Linked DNA regions of Homo sapiens: regions 1, 3, 4, 5, 6 and 7 are each linked to region 2. The links are contacts of gene promoters, found by promoter capture Hi-C in blood cells and fetal thymus (Javierre and others, 2016). All regions are on one chromosome and are shown on one strand. Each heading gives the region's core, a stretch centred on a gene start or on the middle of the fragment in contact. The rest is flanking DNA. Distances are from core to core; before and after follow the strand shown.

Region 1 (3,315 bases), core at 347-2,846, 450 kb after region 2:
TTGATAAATAGTTTACCCTTTAGTTTTACTTTTTAACATCATTTTTTGAAATTGTAAAATATACATAATATAAAATTTATTATCTTAACCATTTTTAAGTATATTAAGTACAGTTTAGTTCAGTGGCATTACGTACATTCACATTGTTGTGCAACCATCACCACCATTCATCCTCAGAACTCTTTTTATCTTGCAAAACTGAAACTCTGTGCCCATTATACAAAAACCCCCCTCACTCGAGCCACTGGCAACCACCATTCTGCTTGCTACCTCTATGAATTTGACTACTCTAGGTACTGCATATAAGTACAGTCATACAATATTTGTTATTTTGTGACTGGCATAATGTCCTCAAGGTTCATCCATGTTATAGCATGTGTCAAAATATTCTTCCTTTTTAAGGCTGAATAATAGTCCATTGCATTATAGGCCACATTTTGTTTATTCATTCATCCATTAGTGGCCTCTTGGGTTAATTCCACCTTTTAGATATTGTGAATAATGCTGCTATGAACATGAATATACACATGTATGTTTGAGTTCATGCTTTCAATTCTTTTGGGTATATACCAGAAGTGGAAATGCTTGATCATATGGTAACTCTATTTTTAATTTTTTGAGAAACCACCATACTGTTTTTCACAGTGGTCCAGTTTCACATTCCCCCCAAGCAGTGCACAAGGGTTCCAGTTTCTCCACATCCTTGCCAATACTTGTTATTATCTGGTTTTTGTTTGTTTTGATAGTAGTCTTCCTAATAAGTATGAGGTAGGTCCCTTTCCTTTTCAAAACCTGCTGCCTTTATATATTCTAAGGGATGGGAATGTCACCATGACATCTGTCATAGTCTTTTTGTAGCTGACTATATCTGTTGTCTCTGGTAAGCACAATAATCAAGAAACAACAGAGAGCCCTGTCATCTCCTGAACCCTCACTGGCAGTTGTTTGCTTCTTAGATAGCTAAGAACTTTTGTCTCCTTCCTTGAGGAGGCGATCTGGCATAATACCTGAGAGCATGGACTGTGAAGCCAGATATCTGCATTAAAATCATGGCATTGTCATTTATTAGATCTTGGACAAGTTACTATGTCTCTGCTTCTTGTCTTGTCTTTTCTCTCTCTTTCTTTCTGTCTTTCTCTCTTCCTTTCTTTCTTTCTTTTTTTTTCCCCCAGGGTCTCACTCTGTTGCCTAGGCTGGAGTGCAGGCACAGTCATAGCTCACTGAAGGTTTGAACTCCTAGGCTCAAGGGATCCTTCCTCCCCAGCCTCCCAAGTAGCTGGTACTACAGGTGCACACCACCACACTGGCTAATTTTTAAATATTTTTTGTAGAGACAGGGTCTTACTATGTTACCCAGGCTGGTCTTGAACTCTGGGGCTCAAGTCATCCTTGTGCCTTCGCCTCCCAAAATGCTGGGATTACCAGTGTGAGCCACCATGCCCAGTGCCTCCATTTCTTTAGCTGTAAAATGGAGCTAATAATAGAGTTATTATGAGGAGTAACTAAGTCAATACATAAAAACATTTAAAGCAGTTTGTGGCACATGGTTGGCACTCACTAAATGGTAGCAGTTGTTACCCCTCTGGAAGCTCCCTGAGGCCTCCCCAGAATCTAATGCCCCAGTGCTTCCTGTACAGCCTGCAGAACTGTGAGTCAATTAAATCTCTTTACTTTGTAGATTACCCAGTCTCAGGTATTTCTTGATAGCAGTGCAAGAACAGACTAATTCAGAAAATTGATACTGAAGAGTAGGGCATTGCTATAAAGATACCTGAAAATGTGAAATCAGCTTTGGAACTGGGTAACAGGCAGAGGTTTGAACAATTTGGTGGGCTCAGAAGAAGACAGGAAGATGAGGGAAAATTTGGAAATTCTCAGAGACTTGTTAAACTGTTATGACCAAAATGCTGTTAATGATATGGACAATGAGGTCCAGGGTAATGAGATCTCAGATGAAAGTGAGGAACTTATTGGGAACTGGAGCAAAGGTTACTTTTGTTATGTGTTAGCAAAGAACCTGGTGGCATTGTACCCCTGCCCTAGGAATCTATGGAACTTTGAACTTGAGAGTGATGATTTGGGGTATCTGGCAGAAGAAATTTCTAAGCACCAATGTGTTGAAGATGTGGCCTGGCTGCTTCTAACAACCTATGCTAATAATGTATGAGCAAAGAAAGGACATAAAACTAGAACTTACGTTTAAAGGGGAAGCAAAACATAAACGTTTGAAAAATTTGCAAACTAGTCATGTGGTAGAGAAGAAAAGCCCATTTTCCGGGGAGCAGTTCAGACTGGCTGCAGAAATTTGTATAGCTAAAAGGAAGGCACATGCTGATAGCCATGACAATGGGGGAAATGCCTCCAAGGCATTTCAGAGATCTTTGTGGCAGCCCCTCCCATCACAGGCCTGGAGGCCTGGGAGGACAGAATGGTTTTGTGGGCCTCACTTAGAGCCTGACTACCCTGTGCAGGCTTGGGACACTGCTCCCTGCATCCCAGCCATTCTCGCTCCAGCTGTGGCTCAAAGGGGCCCAGGTACAGCTTGGGCCACTGCTTCAGAAGGTGCAAACCATAAGCCTTGGTGGTTTCCACATGCTGTTAAGCCTGTGGGTATGCAGAGTGCAAGAGTTGAGGCTTGGGAACCTCCACCTGGATTTCAGAGGATGTGTGGAAAAGCCTGGATGTCCAGACAGTAGCCTGCTGAAGGGGCAGAGCCCTCATGGAGAACCCCTACCAGGGCATTGCAGAGGGGAAACGTGGGACTGTAGCTCCCACACAGAGTCTCCACTGGAGTGTTGCCTAGTGAAGCTGTGAGAAGAGGGCCACCTTCCTCAAGACTCTGGAATGGTAGATACACTAACAGCTTGCACCTGTTGCCTGGAAGAGCTACAAGCACTCAACATCAGCCTTTGAGAGCAGCTCTGGGAGCTGAACCCTGCAAAGCTGTAGGGGTGGAACTGCCCAAGATCTTGGGAGCCCATCCGTTGAATCAGTGTGCCCTGGATGTGAGACATGGAGTCAAAGGAGATTGTTTTGGATCTTTAAGATTTCAGGACTGCCCTACTGAGTTTCAGACTTGCATGGGGCCTCTAGCCCAATTGTTTTGGCCAATTTCTCCCTTTTGGAATGGGAGTATTTACCCAATGCCTATACCTCCATTGTATCTTGGAAGTAACTAACTTGTTTTTTATTTTATAGGCTCATAGATGGAAGGGGCTAGCTTTGTCTCAGATGAGACTTTGGACTTTAGACTTTCGAGTTAACGTTGGAATGAGTTAAGACTTTGGGGGGCTGTTGGGAAGGCATGATTGGATT
Region 2 (3,596 bases), core at 239-2,738:
GTGCTGGGATTACAGGCGTGAGCCACCGCGCCCAGCCTTCTTTTCAGTTTTAAATGCTGCTACTACATAATTTTAAATTACAATATGTGGCTTCTATTAGACAGCCCTGGGGCTTAAATCCTACTTATTCTTCAAAGCCTAGTTGAAACACTGCTGCTTTCATGAAGCTTTCCCCCAGTGACTCCAACTGCCCCAGCCCCCACCGCCAACCTCTCGTAACACTTTGAATCACACTCACAAAGAATAAGATTAATTTTACCTTGTTACACCTTCCCAACTCCAACATAAGCAAGTTGAAGAAAAAAAAACTATATCTAGATCACCATGAAGTTTTCCTCTGACACCTTGGAGAGCCCAGCGCTACGGTAATGTTTGATGTCTGCTAATGGAGAGCTGAATTTCTTAATTACTAATTATCTATCCCTTTCAACGATTTCCATTTTTTTCCTCTGGGATTAAAGTCGATGTCTATCAATGTCCTGTATTATTTTTAAAGTGCCCATGAGCTGTACACATACAATATAACGAACAAGCAAATCCAAAACTAATACATGTGGTCAATACACTTAGATCAACTGTAAAATTTAGACAAGCCTCTAAAGGTCCCTTTTTAAAAAATGATGTTGTACAACCTAACAGTGTATCGTGAGATCAACTATTTCAAAAGTAGAAGCCTTTCCCAAAGATTAACACTGGGTGAGCAGTTTACCAAAAAATTATTGGCGGTCTTCCCCCACAATCCCGAGTATAAATCAGGTAAGCATGCAACAGCTTGGGTGCAGTAAGAGCAAAGTCCCACACTGCATCCAAAGCTCAGAAATCGAGCTGTGAGAAATGTGGTAGTAGGGGAAAAGATGACTTGCGTGAAGGAGACGAACGATGAAAACTGTTGGAATGCAAAACGAGATAACAGCCAGAATAAAAAAAAGTATACCAACTAAGTGGGAGGGATTCTCCTCGGGTCAACCTCTGAACCCTCAGGCGAAGGTCGCAGTGGTCATTTCAAAACGTCTTTTCTTCACATTGTATTTTAGTGACTCAGATCTGCATCCAACAAACTTCCTTCTTCAGCCTACTCCAACTCCCACAGCCAGGACTCCGGCCAAACCCAGCCCTGAAGCCACCCACTCCAGCACACTTTGGAGACTGACAGACGACACAGGAGGACCGTTCTGAGGCCCAGCACCTGGATGACACCCCTCTCCTTGGGAGTCCCGCCCCAGTCCCTTGGGCAGAACCAGGCAGGCAGGGGGCACCCAGCTGGCAGAGGGGTAGGGCAGGGCACCGGACTTCGCCTAGGACCGGCCTCTCCGTTCCATGCCGACGCCAGACGGCTCCTCGGGGACCGGCAAGATGGTGAGAAGGAAGAATAAAGGGGCATTGGAAATTAGCCCCGGCTTTCACTCACCAGCCGTCGCCGCTCGACGTTGGCAGCGGCGGCACATCTTCTCCTTCCGCCATTGCTGTTGACGTCCACGTCACTTTGCCGAAAAGTGGATCCGGCGCTGAGACCAACTCCGAGACTCAATGTCGTAAAAGGTCTTCGGAAGTCCAGCACTGAGCTTCCCCAGAGGGGAAGAAAGAGGGAGGTGGCAAGGGACTGGAGGAACGCAACGTCACGGCGTCCCGAGGCCGAAAGGCAGCGTCTTGGGGGAGGAGACTTGGTGGAGGCAGCTGCCCCTCCAAAGACTACATGTCCCAAGATGCCACGGTGCCGCGGGCGGGGCGGGGCGCGGTGGACGCCGTCCCAGTTGGAGGCCTTGTGTGACAAACAGCGTGTCTTTTTAGCGTCCACTTAGCGTCTTCATTCCAGCTTGGCGTCGAAATTAACAAAGTTAGAATTTACAGTCCTAACTATTGGAGAAAGCAAGGGAAATGGGAATTGACATAGGGAAGGCGGACGTAGGAGAAGAGCCACAGTTCAGTAATTTCCTGCTGTAGCAATTTAATTTGAAGAAAGAGTGGGACGTAAGGAAAGGGGCAGACCACCCCTATTTGTGAGGCCCCGTCAAAAGTGTAAATGAAGGCCCACATACTTTTTGACTGAATATTTAAAAGTTGTAAATGAAGCTATATACTAAAGGAGATACGTTCTAGCCTCCTACCTTAAATATATCTTCCTAACAGTCTGGAAGATCAAGTCCGAATTTAGAATTCTAGGACTGGAATTCCAGGCAAGCAGAGCTGCCAAAATCCTTCTCTACGCGTTCCACTTCCCCTTTACACCGCATGGGCGGACACTTGGCCACCGCCGGGGCCTTGGGGTGAGCACACGCTCAGGAGGATGGACCTAAAGAAACGCTTTTGCAAGCCCTGAAAACAACAGTGATGAAGTAGAACTGCATGTAACAATATGGATACATCTGAAAAATACGCTGTTAAATGAGCAAAACAGATTGCAGACGGATAGGTAAAGTATGGTATCATTTATAGTTGGTGTTTAAAAGACAATATATTTAAAATAGATCCATATGAGTTTAAAATGCAGGAGAATGATATATAGAAAACTCGGAATGGCAGTTACATTCAGGGAAAGGGAGGAGTTTCCATGAATTTTTAAATATTTATTAAGGGCCCCAAGGTGGCCACATAGGTGGCCAGTGTTCTTTATAGAGTCTATACTTAGGTATCTAAAATGTTTCATAGTTTCAAAAACTATTTGTTTTAAATAGATACAAAACAGTACAGCTATCTCATTTACAACCAAAAACATGTTCACTCTCTTCCCTAAAGGGAAATAATACAGATCTGCATGGTACTGCACCCACTTCCAAGGCCCGGATCTCTGTAATGTTCAGTTCTCTGTTAGGGAACATTTCTTTTAACATAGAATGAGACTGTAGATGCCCTCTATCAAAAAGAATAAAAGACGTGAATCTAGGTCACATTACCATTCTAATATTCAGGACCTCCCCTGGGTCCCTTCAATTGTTGCCAGTAGATTTTCAGAAACTTTTCAGAAAATGGTTTTAAAACCTATTCAGTCATTGACATGAGAAGCAGTTGCTCACTGGTTAAGAAGATTCTAGTCCTCAATTATGATTCATTTTGAGTATAATTAAATCAGCAACTGCTTTATAGTCTCTGGTAAAATATTTTCCCATTAAAAATATGTCACTTGACATTTTTAAACAGTTCTTTATTCTGTCAAAATAAAGTGGAAAGTTCTGACTTCTATGTTCTTTAATGGAGCCAGAGCCAGCTTCATGGGCATGTAGTCTATGCAATAGCATGAGACCACATGCTTAGAAGAACTCTGTGCTTGATTTCATGCTCTGGTGTTGCCATCTTGAAATTCTTAATAATTTGGGAACAAGGAGCCACTGGTTTTAATTTTGCACTAGGCCTCACAAATTAGGGAGCCAGTTCTAGATAGGGTCAATATCTTAGTGATGTATAACCCATTGGGGACAAGATTTCAACCAAAATTGTTTAGCGATAGTGTCTTCTAGCGGATTTTTTTTTTTTTTTTTTTTTTTTGAGACAGAATCTCACTCTCACCCAGGCTGGAGTACAGTGGCATGATCTCAGTTCACTGCAACCTCTGCTTCCTAAGTTCAAGTGATTCTCCCGTCTCAGCCTCCCAAGTAGCCAGG
Region 3 (3,377 bases), core at 1-2,500, 460 kb before region 2:
GATTTTTTTTAAAATTCCATTAAGAGATTATTTTAACCGATATATGTAGTCAATTTCTGTGTACTGTGATTAGTATTCTGTTCTATCTATTGAGCTTTCTACCTCTTTTATTCCGCCACCACTTTCTACTGAACTGAACAGGTACCCTTGTTTTCTTTTTTTCTCCTTTCCTGACAATGTCTAATTTTTCAATTATAACTCTTACATGTACACCATGCATACTTCTGCATATGTAGTATGCAATTAAAAAAATCTAAAGGTAATTACAATGTTCCTCCCAAATAAGTCCTTAAAATATTTTTATTCCTATCATCCCTTCCTTTCTTACATATTATTGCCCAGTATTTTTGTCCCAAATTGTTTTTATTCCCTAAGACTATTAATTTTGTAACAATCAATGCTCATTAAAACGTACACATAAATTTCATTGGTGCTTCCCAATCCCCTGACAGCCCAAGGTTTAAGAGTTAAGCTTCCTTGACTTTTTCTGTATCAATGGAAAAGCTTTTCTAAAATAGTTTTTGAAAGCATAGCCTACTGACCAAGCAACAGTTTATCTGCTCACATTGCTTCTTGCATCTTTCACCACCTTCTGGACTAAATTTCCTTCTTGATGAAGACCACTGTTAAAAATTATTTTAACAAGGGTCCATGAGTGGTAAATTCTCAGTCTTTCAAAGTATTTTTACTTCTCCTCATTCGTGAAATTTAGTGGAGTATAGGATGCTACTTTTCTAGTTATTTTTCTTTACTGTTTGCAACTGTGATAATACTGTCTTTTAGCCTCTATTATTACTATGAAGAAGTCTACTAACAGTCTAATTGTTTCATATGTGATCAGTCTTATTCTCTCTGGCTACTTTTAAGGTAATCTCTCTGTCTTAAGACATTTTCCAGTTTCATGACAATATGTCCAGTGGGGATTTACTTTTACTTATCCCTGCTCAAGGCTCCCCGTGCCTTCTGAATCTGAGGGTCTATAGCTTTTATATAACTCTGAAAATTTCTTTAGTCATTACCTCAATGTATTTCCACTCTCCCATTCTCTCCTTCTTGAAACTCTGAATAGAAATATTCTGGATGTTCTCATTTTCAACTTCTCTTTTGCCTGTGTTTTTGTGCTTTACTCTGTAATTTCTTTGGATTTCCTTTTCAGTTCACTAATTCTCTTTTTAGCTATGACTAATGTGTTTAACCTATCCACTTAGTATTTAATTTCAATGATTATATTTCTCATTTCCAAGTTACTTTAAGTTCTTTATAAAATCTGTTTATTGTTTTTCCATAATACAATAGCATCTTGCTCTTATGTTCTCGTTTTGTTTTGTTTTTTCTGAGATGGAGTCTCACTCTGTCACCCAGGCTGGAGTGCAGTGGCGCGATCTCGACTCACTGCAACCTCCACCTCCCAGGTTCAAGCAATTCTCCTGCCTCAGCCTCTCAAGTAGCTGGGACTACAGGCACACACCACTACAGCTGGCTAATTTTTTGCATTTCAGTAGAGATAGGGTTTTACCGTGTTGCTCAGGCTGGTCGCGAACTCCTGCACTCAGGCAATCCGCCCGCCTTGGCCTCCCAAAGTGCTGGAATTACAGGCGTGAGCCACCACGGCCGGCTGCTTTTATATTCTTATTCCTTCTTCTATGTCTTAAATAACTTTTAATTTTGTAGACTATCACATATCTTAACTGAAGTTGTTGAAAATCTAATCCTGCTATTAGTTGTGTCCAGTGGTTCTTGCTTACCTGACAGCTTCATGTGTCTTACGGTTTTGTCTGTGAGAAACCTATGTGACCTGGATTGAGAATATACCCCTCAAGAGAGATTTTGGCCTTTCTTCTGAGATTTTTCTAAAATGGTAACATCTGGGCTTGGGAGTTACCAAACTACATGGATAGTTTAAATTTAAACCCAACTCACCTAAGGACCACAATTATGAATCCTGAAGGGAGACTTCCCAAGCCCCTGACGGCCCAAGGTATAAGAGTTAAGCTTCCTTGACTTTCCCTGTATCAAGGTAGACTTTTCTAAAATATTCTTTTTGAAAGCATGGCCTACTGAGGGACTAGGACCAAGGGCCTACACCATGTAGACACCAGATGGCAATTCCTTAAATTATGCAGGCTAAAATCTCTACTATCACCACCAAGAACACCCCAAGTTTCAGCTTTTGGTACATCAGGCCTTTAGTTCCCTCTACTTTTTTGTTCCCTGGATATTTCCCTTACTTTCCTGTGCAAGCTGAGTTACAGAATTCAGAAAACACATTTGTAAGTTTATCTAGCAGATCCTGTTTAAAGTAAGGGTCTTCAGATTATCTAATCTGCTTTATGCCTAGTCAATAGTTAAGTATTTTACATTCAATACTGTAAAAAGATACCTTTATTTTAAATAATTTTAAACAGTTTTTGTTATTAACATTTAAATTCTGATTATTCATATTCATCCTTCCTAGATGGAGATGAAATAGATACAAATTAAATCAATAGACCATGATCATATTTCACACTGAACTCTAAGTTTCATGCAACAAAATTAAAAAAAAATAAAATTAATGCTAAACAAAACAACAAAACAGCCGGAAAAAGTGTACACATTTTATTTTTCACATAATCACACTACCATTTAACTCTGTAATCTTTTCTATCTTGTCCCTTAAGAGTTCTGCCTTGCATATCTATTAAGATCTAAAAGAAAAAATCTAAAAGATTAAAATTAGTCTTCTATTGGTTTTTATCAGAACTATTTTTAATCTTTAAGTACCCCTCGGGAAATACTGTCTAAAGCAAGGGTCCCCAACCCAGTGCTACTCTGTGGCCTGTTAGGAACCAAACCGGGCTGGGCAGCACAGCAGGAGGTTAAGTGGTGGGCTCCGCCTCCTGTCAGTTCAGCAGTGGCATTAGATTCACATAGGAGTGTGAACCCTATTGTGAATTGCACATGCAAAGTGGAAGAGTTTCATCCCCAAACCTTCTCCTGCCCCCTTCCATAGAAGAACTGTCTTACACGAAACCAGTTTCCAGTGCAAAAAGGTTGGCGACTACTGGTTTCAAGTATCAGACTTACATGTTAAGCCCTGATAATAAGTAACAACATACTGTAATGTGAAGGAAGATAATTACAATTTAAAAATTCTAATACAGCTAAATTAAAACTATAATACTGCACCAGGGATACCTAAGTTATACCTGATTTCAAAAAAAACATACTTAACACTCTGTTCTTACTGAATTAAACTTCTATCATTTTCTTAAAAACATACACAGCCATAAGCTTCAAGTAATCTAAAACAACTACCTGAACACAAATAAATGTAATAATATTTGAATAAGTTATTGCTTACCTGAGTCTTTAAAAGGAAAAAAGCCAAACATCTT
Region 4 (3,306 bases), core at 172-2,671, 440 kb before region 2:
TTTTCAGACAAACAGCATAGAGATTATGGAAAAACAGACAATAGTGAAAGTTAGGGAATTATGGATTTTGCTTTTGTAAAAGATACGCTTTGTGAATATTGCTTTTTCTGCTCCCAGCAAATTTCAAATGTGTAATACACCGTTATCAACTATAGTCACCATGCTGTACATTATATCTCCAGAACTTATTTATCCTATAACTGAATGTTGTACCATTTGACCAACATCTCCCCTTTCCCCCAACTTCCCAGTCCCAGTCCATTCTACTCTCTGTTACTGTGAGCTTGACTTCTTTTTAGATTCTACATATAAGTAAGATCATGCAGTACGTTTCTTTCTGTGTCTGGGTTATTTCACTTACCATAATATCCTTCAGGTTAATCATGTTATTACAAATAGCATTACCTCCTTTTTTAAGGCTGAATAGTACTCCATGGTGTGTGTGTGTGTGTGTGTGTGTGTGTGTGTGTGTGTGTGTGCCTGTATCATAATTTTTTTATCCATTCATCCTTCAATGGACACTTATGTTGTTTGTATATCTTAGCTATCATGAATAATGCCACAATAAACGTGGGAGCAGAAATATCTCCCTGAAGTACTGACTTCATTTCCTTTGGATATATACCCATCAAAGGGATTGTGGGTCATATGGTTGTTCTCTTTGTAATTTTTTGAGGAGCATTCATACTGTTTTCTATAGTGGGTATACCAATTTCAATTCCCACCAACAATGTAAAAGGATTCCCTTTTCTCCACATCCTAGCTAACGCTTGTTATCTTTTAACATTATTGATCATAGCCATTCTAACAAGTATGAAGTGATATCTCATTGTGGCTTTCATTTGCATTTCCCTGATGGTTAGTGATGTTGAACATCATTTCATATAACTGTTGGCAACTTGCATGTGTTTTTTGGGAAAATGTCTACTCAGGTCCTTTGCTCATTTTTTAATCAGGTTTTTTGTTTTGTATGGTTTTGATTTTGGGTTTTTTTTGCTATTGAGTTGTATGTGAATATTTTTTAAAGCTGAAATTGTTACAGCAGTTTCCTCTTTCAGTAACCCCCCTCCCCGCAACCCCCAGTGTGGAACAGTCTTGGACCTCATCTGAGGAGCCATAGGAACTAAAAGGTTACATTAAGGGGTTTCCACAGAGCCAGAGAGCTCCGGTGTTTGACAGACTGGTAAAATCCAGTTGACACTTCTGTCTCAGATTTCCCAAACACTTACAAAAAATGCCAAGCTCTTCTGAATGAGGCAATGATAAGCTGATAGCAATGAGCTTGAGAACGATCTCCCTTTGTTGGTGACAGGAAGAAAAAAAAAAGAGAGGCAAGATAAACTTTAAAATAGGAAAGATAAGAGAAAAAGCAATCCAAACTCTGACAATTTAACAGTGAACTCTGAATTGTCAATTAAGACTCAGAAAAGGAAATCCAAAGGTCAGGACGGTTTGCTCCCCAAAGAAACTGCACATGCCACCACAATAAAAAATAAAGGCTATTGGGCACTGTTATCACACAAAATAAACCAGAAAACACAGAAAGGCACAGCTGCCCATATACAATATCACAAAAATGAGTTCTGCAGTGCCTTGAGTCTCCCTTTCCTGCAATCTCTTGTTTTTAAAGTAAGTCACCCTTCTGCTCTTCTAATTTCTCTTTTTGCTCCTCAACTTCCAAGGCACCAAATAATTTCTTGGTCTCCCTAATTTCTTGATCTCCCTACCGACCCTATTCAAACCCTGCTCAGACAAGGGAGATGACTGACGAGTTTTAAAGTAGTTCTTTCCCAGGGAGTACTTGTACTTTGTCAGGGAGTGTAGTAGAAGTTCTTTAATGTTTTGATGCCAACATCCCTTCCCTGATATAATTGTCCTTTCTCCAGTCCATGCTATCCTATCAACCAAGTCATCTTCCATCTGTCCACTTCATAGTGGGTATGTGACCCAAGCTGGAGCAATATTCCCGGAACACAATGCCTGTGGGTACACTACCCAAGCAAGATATGCCAGTCCTGGGCCTGTTTGCCTTCAGTTCTCTCCTCTCCTTGCACCTGTTGTATTGTGTAATACAGGGGGACTTGGCCCGGGCTCAGCAGGCTACAGCCAATGGAAGATGTTGATGGGAGGCTGCAGGACAGGAGGAAAGGGAAAGCCAGGATTCTTCTTCGGTTCTTCTTTCTGGGTAGAGCAGGCTGCCTCTTTTTGGCTGCAGCTCCCACCATTGGCCCGCCCTGGTTTCAGCCGCAGGCCTGGCTATGGAAATTCTTCTTACTTTATCTCTCTGGCTTAAAAGAGGTTTCTGCTTTCTTATTTTGCTAATCTCTACATTTCCTGCCTCATTCTCCAATTTGTCTCTGAGCTTGTTAAACACCACAAAACCAACTGTCTGCTTTAAAATTTTATTTTAAATACTTAATGTGCTTTCTGTTTTCCTGCTGGAATGATAACTAGAATTAGAGTCATTCCATGAGATTTTACTGTGGATACTAAGAGAAAAAAGGTCTCTTCCTGTTAGATCATTAGGCTATAAGATTAGGGATGCCAATAGCCAATTTCCAGCCACCTAAACCCAATTTTAGAATGACATCAAACACAGAAGCACACAGACCCAGGAAACAGAGAGAAAAAGAATATCTGACACATTCTTAGCACTCCCTGTGAAAGGATAGAGTTCCCTGATCCCCGTCACAGGGCATGTGACAGGGGTGTGGCTCGCTGGGCTCCCTGCCTCCTAGGCGGAACATGCAGACAGGCAGGTGAAGAGGTCGTGGGGAAAGCCTTTGGGCCCCAACCCCACAGCACCGTCTATGGGTGGGTGTCTGCCACTCCCAGAGCCCAGGTGGTTGTGTGTTACAGTGTGCGCTTTCAGCTTTGCCATCTGCAGACAGCTTGTGTTAATCAGTTCAATAAGCCCTCTGCCTTATCGCCAGGGCAGAGGGCCAGTGTGATAGCTTTCTGTATCCTGAGTTCTTACCCAGTGTACCGGCAAAATCAAATCACACGTGGGCTTGAAGGATGAGTGCAAGGTTTTACTGAGTGGTGGAGGTGGCTCTCGGTGAGGTGGATGGGGAGCTGGAAAAGGGGAATGGAGTGGGAAGGTGATCTTCCCCTGGAGTCTGGCTGTCCTTGGCCAACATTCAGAAGCCTCTTCCCTCCTTCTCTGCCACACCACCCCACCATTCTCCACCGCTCTTTTCCCCTGCTCTTCTCGATGTTCAGCCCCTTATGTGTGTGTCGCTAAGGTCTCGGGTTTATACGGACACAGGATGGGGGTCGTGGTGGGCCAGAGTGGCCTTGGAAAAT
Region 5 (3,656 bases), core at 699-3,198, 480 kb before region 2:
TTCAACACCTGCTCACCTGAATACTGAATACCATACTGTTGAGGCTGCTGAGGTGGAGCCTGCGGCTGCTGTGCACCATAGCCGGCCTGTTGCTGGTACTGTTGGTACATCTGACCTGAAAACACACACACACACACACAAGGAAAAAAGGCATGTTTAATGTGGCAAAGAGAAATATTTTTAAGATACATATACATTCCCTCTCCATCCAAACAGAGTAACAATATACAAGAAAGTATTTGTTCAACTTTAAATGTCTATGAAGAAGAGAATGAACCATTTTAGAAGTGTGATTCCTCTGCTGTGGATTAACTGCAGAGAACTAACTGGCAATAAACATTAAGTGCAACACCAGTGGCTACCATTTCATAAAGTCTAGAAAAACAAATGTTTTCCAACCCAGCTGCCAACAGATAAGTAACGCTAATGTTCATTAAAAGCCAAGTGAGTTGAAAATCAGTAAATAAAAATGAGAAAAGGGACAAATACCATTTATATCATCTAAGTCCTTCCTAAAGCACTGTATTTGCCCTCTAAAGGTATGGGCCTCTATTACCATATGAACAAACTCTTTGGTAGCAAGGAACTATATGACATCTTTTGTTCCAGAGCTGAAAGACACTTTTGGAATTTGTCAAGTTTGATTTTCTATGAATATCCAACATCTTTTGCCAATAACGTGGACTCTAATAAAGTCTAAATGGTTCTTCATTGCACTATTTAATAATGGCAGACCTTTTTAACAACGGTGATGTGTTCTTGAACATGGGAGTCCTATTTGTCCTATTTGGGGTCAACAACCACTGTTCCTATGAAGAAACCCTTTAGACACTTATTACCTATGATTTTTCTTTTTACTTTTTATTTTTCTGTCCTCACAATCTGTTCCCATACCTGTGATTTTCAAGCAAAGATTTATTGGTTTATGTCTTTATTATCTCTACTTCTCAATTATTTCACAATGGTTGATTTAGCTAGATGTAATATCTAGTAGCAATAACCTTGCATTTTAATATCTATCTGGTATTTAAATCTTTAAAATAATCACATGTTGGCTGATTCTTTGAAAAATATTCAAACTACCTATTAATCAAAAGACTATGAGCAAACCAGATACTTACTGCTGAAGTGAGAAAAAAAAAAAGACATTATATCAACTCCCACTCAAATCGAGCTGCAGTAGGCAGCTAGGACTCACAGGCTTAGAAAATGAGACGGAGCCCACTCTATTATACCAGCTGCTCAGCCCTATACGTGTCTAAGTTTTTAGTGCTGGGTAGCACTAAAGGAGATACAACTATGTTTATATCCAGCTTATTTCCTAGCAAATGTTTCTTTATAATAAAAAAAGAATACAAATAAAAATCAGCTCAACTATTTTAAGCTATTTATCCTATTCCCAAATATGACAAGAAAAAAAAAGAAACGCTTACAAAAGTTTCTTAAATGCTTTCTTAATGATTTAGACTAATAGCATAAAAGGTAGCACAGAAATTAACCAAATTTAGATGCCACCTTAATCCTGGATTGTACTTCATAACTAACTTTCGGAATAGAAGTGACCAGAATCTAAAATAAAAAGGTAAGTAGGTACAGAAATATAATCAAGGGGAATAAATACGTATAGCACATAACAATGAACTCTTAATTCTTGAAAATTAGAAGGCTTAACTCCACAATAAAAAAATAAGCAAACAGGCAATAAACACATTTAAAAAAATTCAACCATATTAGTATTCCTTATCTCAGATACAGAAAAATTAAGCAACTTACCTGCAGTCAATAGCTAAGAACAGAACCATGAAGAGCTAAGAACCATCACTGGAACTCAGGCATAACTCCAAAGCTTTAGTTTATAAAGTCATTTTGCATATATTATCCCATGAACAAAACAATATAAATATTAACTTGGGCATCATCAAAAAAGGCTGAGATTAAGGTTCCACGTAGTAGTAGACTGTGGTCATCAATGAGTAAGGAACTCCTGGTCAAAACCACAGTTATTCCCCTCAATAAAAATTTATAGGGTACAACTCTTCATAAAGCTTTTTTTTTTTGCATGTTTTCATAAACTGCTATAAATTGATTTTGAAAAACATCCCTAGAGTTAAAAATTTCAGAGGTTTATTATATCTCTACACAAGATTCCTTTTACACAGCAGATCCTCAAATAACATCTTTTGTTCGACATTGTTTCGTTAAAACACTGAGAAGGAAAAAAAAATTATTCCCAGTTGGGGTTACTGTTCTGTGTAGAGTCTGCACATTCTCCCCAAGTCTGTGTGGGTTTTCTCTGGGCACTTCAATTTCCTCCCACATCCCAAAGATGTGTATGTTAGGTTACTTAGCATGTCTAAATGATCTCAGTCTGAACGACTATGGGTGTGTGTGTGGTTGCAATGCACCCTGCAATGGAATAGCAACCTGTCAGGGTTGGTCCCCACTTTGCTACTGAGCTGATGGGATAGATTTCAGCCACCCACAACCCTGAATTGGAATAACTGCATAAATCATTATCTTATTTGTTTTTATTAATCTTTCTTAAATGTATCTATAACTCACATTTGTTTTTAGTCTTTATCTAGAAGTCTGGGGGTATTTTTGTGATCAGAGATATGCTGTAGGAACTCAACTTACTCATATCAATTAGCCTATGGTAGAACTGATTTCCTCATACGTCATCTCACTTAAAGTTACAATTTCCAAGAACCTATCAACAATGTTAAGTGAGGATTTACGGTACTTACTTTAAACCCACCTCATTCAAGTCCAAATGGGACTGTCACAGTATTCTGAAAATTAATTAAGAAGTCTGTTTAATTGTTTAAAAAAAGAAAAAGGATGAACTTCTTCACATACTTGAGAGATCTATAGGATATATGAAGAGAGCAAAATGCAGACATTGTTTATAGTAAGCAATGTTTTGAGTAATAAAAAATATGGTCATGCATTGCTTAATGACAAGAGTAGGTTCTGAAAATTGTGTCACTGTATAATCATATAGTATACTTACACAAACCTAGATGTATATAGCCTACTACATAGCTAGGCTATATGGTACATAGCAGTCTACAAACCTGTAGAGCATGTTCCTGTACTGAATACTTAGGCAATTCTAACACATGGTAATTATTTGTGTATCTAAACATATCAAAACATAAAAAAGGTACAGTGAAAATATGGCAAAAAAGATAAAAAATGGTATGCCTGCCTAGGGCACTTACCATGACTGGAGCTTGTAGGATTAAAAGCTGCTCCAAGTGAGGTACTTGTGTTGAGTGAATGTGAAGGCCAAGGACATTACTGTGCACTACTAAAGGTTTACAAACGCTATACACTTAGGCTATACTACATTTATTTTTTAAAATTCCATTTCTTCAATAAATTAACCTTAGCTTACTGTAATGTTTTTACTTTATAAACTTGATTTTTTAACTTTTTTAATACTTTAGCTTAAAGTACATTGTGCTACTATACAAAAATATTTATTCTTTATATCCTTATTCTATAAGCATTTTTCTATTCTTTTAATTTTAAATTTTTACTTTTTTAAACATTTAGAAAAAAATTATGACACAAACATACACATTAGCCTAGGCCTATACAGCATCAGGATCATTGATATCACTATTTTCCACCTCCATATCCTGTCCCAC
Region 6 (3,639 bases), core at 452-2,951, 330 kb before region 2:
TCTATATCACAATTGAAATCAATAAATCAATAAAAGAAAATAACAGTGACTCTTAAGCCATTCAGCATCCTTAAGATAAAAAAATAAATAAAATCCTGTCATTTGCAGCAACATGGATGAGACTGGCAGACATTACGTTAAGTAAAATAAGTCAGGCACAGAAAGACAAATGTGACAAGTTCTTACTCATGTGCAAGCTAAAACAATTGATCTCATGGACGTAGAGAGTAGAATGGTGGTTACCAGAGAGTGGGAAGGGTAGTGGGGAGGGGGAGATAAAGAGGAGTTGATTAATGAGTACGAAAATATGATTAGATAGAATGAATAAAATCTAATGCTCAGTAGCACAATAGGGCAACTATAGTTAGCAATAATTTATCATGTATTTTAAAATAACTAGAAGAATCATCTTAGAATGTTTCCAACACAAACAGATGATAAATGTTTGAGATGATGGATATTTCAACTACCTAGATTTGATCATTGCACATTACATGCTTGTGTCGAAATATCATATGTACTCCATAAACATGCATAACCATTATGTATCCATAAAAAATTTTAAAAACCAATGATCACAAGACCAGTCCAGATTCATGCTACAAAAAGCACAAATTCAAGATGGCAGGATTCACTGGAGGCTGTGATGATTAATTTTATGTGTCAACTTGGCTTGGCCATAGTATTCAGATATTTGGTCAAAATTTATTCAGATTTTTTGTGAAGGTATTTTTTATTTAATTTTGTTAACATTGTCTCTTACATTTTCTCTAATTTACAAATAGCCTGGTAACAGAAGTTCTAATAAACTGAATTAAAATCCTAATGCTGAGCTGAAGCTTTACCTCATTTATAAAATTCCTTATTTTCCACTGATGATTCCCCTGATCATCTCATTTGTTCAAGATTTTCAAATTTTGGATGTTATTAATTTGCCTGAGTGTTTTGGAAGAGACTACCAAATAACCTACGATCTATCCTTTCCTTCTTTAAAAAAAAAAAAAAGAACTTTAATTTCAGGGGAGCTAATGGCCTGCAAGCAAGTCACGATTATTTCCAGCCTCCCTTGAAGCAAAGTGTAGTTATATGACTAAGTTTAGGCTATTGGAAAATAGGCAGAAAGGATGATTGCACCTTCCAGATTTCCAGATCACAGTAGAAATTACACATCACATTAGAAATTCCAGCCACTCTATTTTCCCCTTCTATAGTCTTGAATGCCGACATGGACATCTCAAAAAATGGTAGAACGATCAAACAAAAGGAGCCTGGGTCTTGAATGTCCTCCTAGATCAGAGATGAAGATGAAAGTATTTTATAGATGAGAATTAACACTTAACATTTAAGTGAGTAGACTTTTTGGATTTTGATTTTTTTTATTTTTTGACAGACTCTCGCTCTATTGCCCAGGCTGGAGTGCAGTGGCATGATCTCGGCTCACCGCAAACTCCGCCCCCAGCTCAAGTGATTCTAATGCCTCAGCTATCTGATTAGCTGGGACTACAGGCATGCACCACCATGCCCAGCAATTTTTGTATTTTTTAGTAGAGACAGGGTTTTGCCACGTTGGCCAGGCTGGCTTCGAACTCTTGGCCTCATGTGATCCACCTGCCTCGGCCTCTCAAAGTGTTGGGTTTACAGGTGTGAGCTACTCTTGCCCAGCCTTAAGCCAGTAGACTTTGAGTAAAGTGAATTACCCTTGGTAATGTGGGTGGGCCTCATCTGTATTGGGCCATTTTTGTGTTGCTATAAAGGAATACCTGAGGTTGGGTAACTGATAAAGAAAAGAGGTTTAATTGACTCATGGTTCTGCAGGCTGTACAAGAAGCACGGTGCCAACATCTGCTCAGCTTCCGGTGAGAGCCTCAGGAAGCTCACAATCATGACAGAAGACGACAGGGAGCCAGCATGTCACATGGAGCTAGCAGGAGCTAGAGTGACAGCAGGAGAGGTGATACCCTCCGAAACAAGATCTCACGCACTCAGAGAACTCACTATCACCAAGGGGGTTGTGCTAAGCCATTCATGAGGGATCTGCCCCCTGATCCAATACCTCCGTATAGGCTCACCTCCAACATGGGGGATCACATTTCAACATGAGATTTGAAGGGGTCACACATCTAAACCATATCATTATACAATCAGTTGAAGGCCTTTTTTTTAATTTTTTTATTTTTCCACAGTTTTCACTCAGTCACCCAGGCTGGAGTGCAGTGGTACAATCATCTCATCACAGCTTCAATCGCCCAGGCTTCCCGAGTAGTTGAGACTATTGGCACTGGCTAATTTTTTTTTTTTTTTTTTTTTTTGACACAGGCTGCCTATATTGCCAGGCTGGTCTCGAATTCCTGAGCTCAAGCAATCCTTCCGTCTTGGCCTCCCAAAGTGCTGGGATTACAGACATGAGCCACCATGCCCAGCCCAGTTGAAGGCCTTAATAAAAAAAGGCTAACCTTTCCCAAAGAAGAAGGAATTCCTCTGGGCTTGAACTGTAACATCAACTCTTCCCAGCCTGTTGTCTCAAATACATGCCTTATTTTGAATTCTAAAACATGAAGCTTAAAACTAATGTTAAAGTAATAAGATTGTATTAGTTTGCTAAGGCTGCTCTAAGAAAGTACCACAGGTTTGGGACTTGTCAGCCTCTACAGCCACTTGTGCCAATTCCTTAAAATCCTCCCCTCAAGCCTACATTTGTATATTGGTTCTGTTTCTCTGGAGAACTAATACAGGGGCCATTCTGCAATAAGAACCATGCATTTTACAGGATATGAAGGCCCATAATCCCCAGAAAGCTTAATAATAATGTATGATATTCAAGGATACTCAACGAGTTTGTGATCTAGTTAGCAAGCGTATAAAACATTAGAAGACACCAAAGACAACAATGCAGAAGTCACTAGTTAATAAATGATTTACAAGTATAAACATTGCCTCCCAGAGGAATGTTGGAATGACAAAAATACTGGTTAAGGACACTTGCCAACCTGGTGAGCCCATAAAATAGTATAAATGTATAACTAAGCCAAGTTGTCAGTAAGTTTCTCAACAAAGATAATGCATTTTATGGCTGGTAATAAAACTTGGGGTAGATAATATCTTCATCCCTGGCATTTGCCGTATTGCCCTCAGTGTACCATTTTCCATGCTTTATTCTGAAATCTAAAAACATTAAGCTTAAAACTAATGTAAAGTAATGGGGTTGTTTGAGTTTGCTAAGGTTGCTATAAGAAAGTATCACAAACGGAGCAGCTTAAACAACAGAAATTTGTCTCACAGTTCTGGAGGCTAGAAATTCCAGATCAAGGTATTGTCAGGGCCATGCTCCCTTTCAAGGTGTTAGAGAGAATCTGTTCCATGCCTCCCTCTTAGTTAGCTTCTGATAGTATGCTGCCAAACTTCGGCATTCCTTGACTTGTAGACATATCACTCCAATCTCTTCCTTTATGTCCATATGGTGTTTTCCACGTGTGTGTGTGTGTGTGTCCAAATTTTTATTTTTTATAAAGACATAAGGCATATTAAATTGGAAACTACCCTACTTCAGTATGGCCTCATCTTAACTAATTTGATCTGGAATTATCATATTTCCATATAAGATCACCTTCTAAGGTACTGGGGGTTAGGACTTCAAAATAT
Region 7 (3,277 bases), core at 214-2,713, 470 kb after region 2:
CAGTCTATACTCTTAGTTTCCTTCTGTTGATCTATTGATTGACATATGTAATTAGAGTAGTATTAAGAACACTTGCACCTGTCTAATACTTAGTTCGCAAAATGCTTTCCTGTGACTTTTCTTTTAACACAGCAGGTCCTTACAACATTGCTCTCTTAGTTCAGAAGACTGACTTGTCACCTTTCTTTTTTTTCACTGCTTTAGCTCCCAGCATCTGGCCCAGAGCCTGACACAAATAGGTGCTCACTATAGATAGTTGCTGAATGTTTGAATAAATAAACAATAAGGGGATAGACTATTTGTGATTTAATATATTTTATTTCATCTGATGCTAGTTAAAATAATAAAGCAAAACATAAATGGTAGTCTTATCTGTGTCTTTAAGGCTTGAAGTTTTCAAGAATATGGTTAGAACACAGTAGGCATTTTAAAAATGCCAGTAACAAATTCTAAAACTAAAGCTTCTAAAATTTATCTTCCCCCTCTGATCCCATAATTTAGAGATTTGGAAAGCTGTTGTTTTATAACAGCCTGGGAGTATGATGTTACCTTTGCCTTTCTTGGGTACGGCTTCCTTGCCCATTCTTGGCGCCGGTTGAATTTCCTTCATATATTGGGGTAGGTGTGGATACTCTTTGCCATACTGCAAGTGGGGCATCTCCTTGCCCATGGCAAGGCCATCTTTGGCCAAAGGCATGTGAGGTACTTGCTGACCCAGGGGCTGGTATTGTGGAATTTGTGGTGGCATCTGAGGAGGAATTTGAGGTGGCAGCGGCTTGATCCCATAGTAGGCACCAGCCTGAATGAGCCTGATGGAACTCAGGGAAATGGTAAGCAGCACTCCCAGCAGCTGCAGAGGGCCAGGCAGCACAGCCATCACCTGTGGGAGGAACCAATGCACCAACTTGGTGAAACTCTGCAAGGCCAAGTGACTTGAGTTTATTTAGAGATAGAATGGGGAAAAAAAAGGGAAACAGTCTTTAACATCAGAACTTCATGATAGAAGTCAAATGAAAAGGAAAATGCTACTTTCTATAGAAAACAAACAAACAAAAAATAGAGAATAGTGGAATCTGTCAAATAAAGGCAATTGGTAGGAACATAGACTATGGGAGAGACTACTGGTTGTCCCCCATATCGATTCTGCCTTTCTTGCCCTGTTTTCCCGTCTTCACCTGGGAATAGAGCAGCCCAGAATGAAGACATTTCAGCCAGGCAGGGCCATTTCAGCCATTCTTGCCAATTGTGTATAGTTGTCATGGGTGTACCTTCCAGGAAGAATCCTAAAAAGGAGTGGATATGTCTTCCCCTTCCTCCTTCCTTCTGGCTGGATTGCTGATATGTTACTGGAAACAGACCACACATCTTGGACCATGAGGCGAATGCAGTGCACAGAGAATGATAAAACGAGCTAGAATAAACCTCAGTCCTGGTTAGGCTTTGTTAATAAGTGCCAAAATTATATTCTAAATGGAAACAGTTGATAATTTATAGGCTTTATGCTACAGTAGAGATTTTTCATCTGCCAGATGAGGGCTGCTTTGATGTAGTCACAAATAAATGTAAATGTAAAGAGCAAACAGGAACAAAGCCTGCAGAAGTCTTCTGAGTTGAAGAGAAAATGCTTCTTCATGTAATAGTATGAAATATTTTAAAAATCACTATCATAATTATGCACCTTTATTTCTTGTATTAAAATACTATGAATTCATTAGTTTAGAAATTGGTTAATTGGACCATTAAAGTCTATCTTTGTCCTTTTGTGAAAGAAAGTTTACAAAGCAAGAGTTGTATGAATAAGAGGGAGATGTTTAACTATTAATAAGAATACGCTGCTTCTAAGCCCATTAATAGCACTCTTTACAAATTAGCAGTAAACAGAATTAATATAAATGGGGCTTATCTGTTTATAAAAACCAGCTTGAAAAGACCTCTGTTTGGAAACGCCCTAGGCTTAAAACCAGACAGCCCAGAGAAGTGCATTGTTGGCAAATGCACACTAGAGGGCAAGTGTGATACACACTTAGGTCTGTTCAATATTCTGCCTGCCCACTCCCTGCCCTCTGTAGTTCTAATGCTGGGCATACACGAACTCCATGCTCACAATGTATAAAGGGACTTAATGAAAATTTGAATCTTAAGGGACATGTCATCATAATGCTGGAGAGAGAGAGAGAGAAGTGGCAAATTTCTCACAATTTTTAATGTAAGTATCTTCTGGAAAACTTTGAAGAAACTTCTGTCTGTAAATAATTCAATTTCCATCTTCTTGAGAGTTGTTTTCTTTGCTTTTGCCTTACTTAATTCTGGATCATAGTTTTCTACTTCTTAGAAAATGTGCGTTGATTTTGCAATATCCTATTCCAGGGTAATGCCAAGAGTGTATACAGGCTACAAAAGGATTGGTTAATAAAACACCTAATAAAATATTTAAAATGAATCCCTATCACAAAATTCAAGCTTTACAATCTTTCTAAATACACTAACAAATCATTTTTTCCCTGGAAAAAATGAAGAAACAGTTGCTAGGCCCATTTTGGATTACTAAGATGAATATAATATGGCTGGTGGGCCTTACCATCAAGGAGTTTGTACTCTTAGTGGGGGTGACAGATGTGTAAACTGTTATTGAGTAGCAAAGGATATCTAGTAAAAAGTAAATTTTCCTCCTACTTCTGTTCTCCAGTATCTAAAATCCCTTATGTTTGAAGCAACAATTTTTCCTCATATTTTTCAGATAGTCTGTGGATATGCACATATCATATACATCCCTTTCAAACATAAATTGCAGTATACTATACACACTTCTATTTTTTGCTTTTTTCACTCAAAGATCAGTACTTATTCCTTGTCTAGTTATGTGCATCTAAACAAATTTCTTTAAGTTCTTCATTTATTAAAATATGACTTGGATGTTCCCTTAAGTCTTTTCTAGCTCTAACATTCAATGTCTGTAAGACAGTTACTAGAGATCTGAAAGTGTTAATCCATACCAGAAATGTGTGGTAATATCTGGTAATGTATAAGCTGGTACTTAATTCTACTTTTGGGGATGAATGAATTTAATTATGGAACCCCAGACTTGTGGTGAAGTCTTTAATAATAAGCTAGCATGTTTGGCCCTTCAGCCTTCCATCAATTCAGTGGATATGTTGGATTATACTTCATAATCTTTAAACCAGGACAATCTAATGAAATACTGGAAAACTGGAAGGAGATGAAATGCCTGGAAGAATACCAGTTGAATTATTTCCTCTCATAGGCTCAGCATATCTGT

What was found. The method cuts DNA at HindIII sites, captures the fragments that hold promoters and counts their contacts. A CHiCAGO score of 5 or more calls a contact.
Region 1: a contact is called between a fragment that was not itself captured here and the fragment with the promoter of TBC1D23 in region 2, in 14 of 17 cell types (naive B cells, naive CD8 T cells, total B cells and 11 more). The highest score is 19.5, in naive B cells.
Region 3: a fragment that was not itself captured here is called in contact with the fragment with the promoter of TBC1D23 in region 2 in 4 of 17 cell types (neutrophils, non-activated CD4 T cells, fetal thymus and 1 more); the score reaches 6.7 in neutrophils.
Region 4: a contact is called between a fragment that was not itself captured here and the fragment with the promoter of TBC1D23 in region 2, in 3 of 17 cell types (neutrophils, non-activated CD4 T cells and fetal thymus). The highest score is 7.3, in neutrophils.
Region 5: a fragment that was not itself captured here is called in contact with the fragment with the promoter of TBC1D23 in region 2 in 1 of 17 cell types (total CD8 T cells); the score reaches 5.3 in total CD8 T cells.
Region 6: a fragment that was not itself captured here is called in contact with the fragment with the promoter of TBC1D23 in region 2 in 7 of 17 cell types (total B cells, fetal thymus, total CD8 T cells and 4 more); the score reaches 9.3 in total B cells.
Region 7: a fragment that was not itself captured here is called in contact with the fragment with the promoter of TBC1D23 in region 2 in 3 of 17 cell types (naive B cells, total B cells and monocytes); the score reaches 9.4 in naive B cells.

Annotation. Positions count from the first base shown.
Region 1 is chr3:99,804,480-99,807,794 of GRCh38, reverse strand. No RefSeq gene overlaps it. Among named protein-coding and RNA genes, the nearest start is that of CMSS1, 12 kb to the left of the region's middle. The HindIII fragment of the contact is 4,083 bases long and covers 1-3,315 here.
Region 2 is chr3:100,258,884-100,262,479 of GRCh38, reverse strand. It overlaps TBC1D23 (TBC1 domain family member 23), which reads right to left and starts at 1,488. Exons shown (of 19, transcript NM_001199198.3): 1 at 1,409-1,488. The coding sequence starts at 1,461. RefSeq lists enhancers at 747-1,415, 1,191-1,680, 1,416-2,084. The HindIII fragment of the contact is 5,201 bases long and covers 170-3,596 here.
Region 3 is chr3:100,720,109-100,723,485 of GRCh38, reverse strand. The region is part of intron 3 of TFG (trafficking from ER to golgi regulator); the gene reads right to left. Among named protein-coding and RNA genes, the nearest start is that of TFG, 12 kb to the right of the region's middle. The HindIII fragment of the contact is 1,488 bases long and covers 507-1,994 here.
Region 4 is chr3:100,696,846-100,700,151 of GRCh38, reverse strand. No RefSeq gene overlaps it. Among named protein-coding and RNA genes, the nearest start is that of TFG, 11 kb to the left of the region's middle. The HindIII fragment of the contact is 5,167 bases long and covers 1-3,306 here.
Region 5 is chr3:100,741,292-100,744,947 of GRCh38, reverse strand. It overlaps TFG (trafficking from ER to golgi regulator), which reads right to left. Exons shown (of 8, transcript NM_006070.6): 7 at 17-115. Among named protein-coding and RNA genes, the nearest start is that of TFG, 34 kb to the right of the region's middle. The HindIII fragment of the contact is 199 bases long and covers 1,849-2,047 here.
Region 6 is chr3:100,590,944-100,594,582 of GRCh38, reverse strand. No RefSeq gene overlaps it. Among named protein-coding and RNA genes, the nearest start is that of ADGRG7, 17 kb to the left of the region's middle. The HindIII fragment of the contact is 1,719 bases long and covers 842-2,560 here.
Region 7 is chr3:99,788,283-99,791,559 of GRCh38, reverse strand. It overlaps COL8A1 (collagen type VIII alpha 1 chain), which reads right to left. Exons shown (of 4, transcript NM_020351.4): 3 at 550-880. The coding sequence starts at 877. Among named protein-coding and RNA genes, the nearest start is that of CMSS1, 28 kb to the left of the region's middle. The HindIII fragment of the contact is 1,999 bases long and covers 464-2,462 here.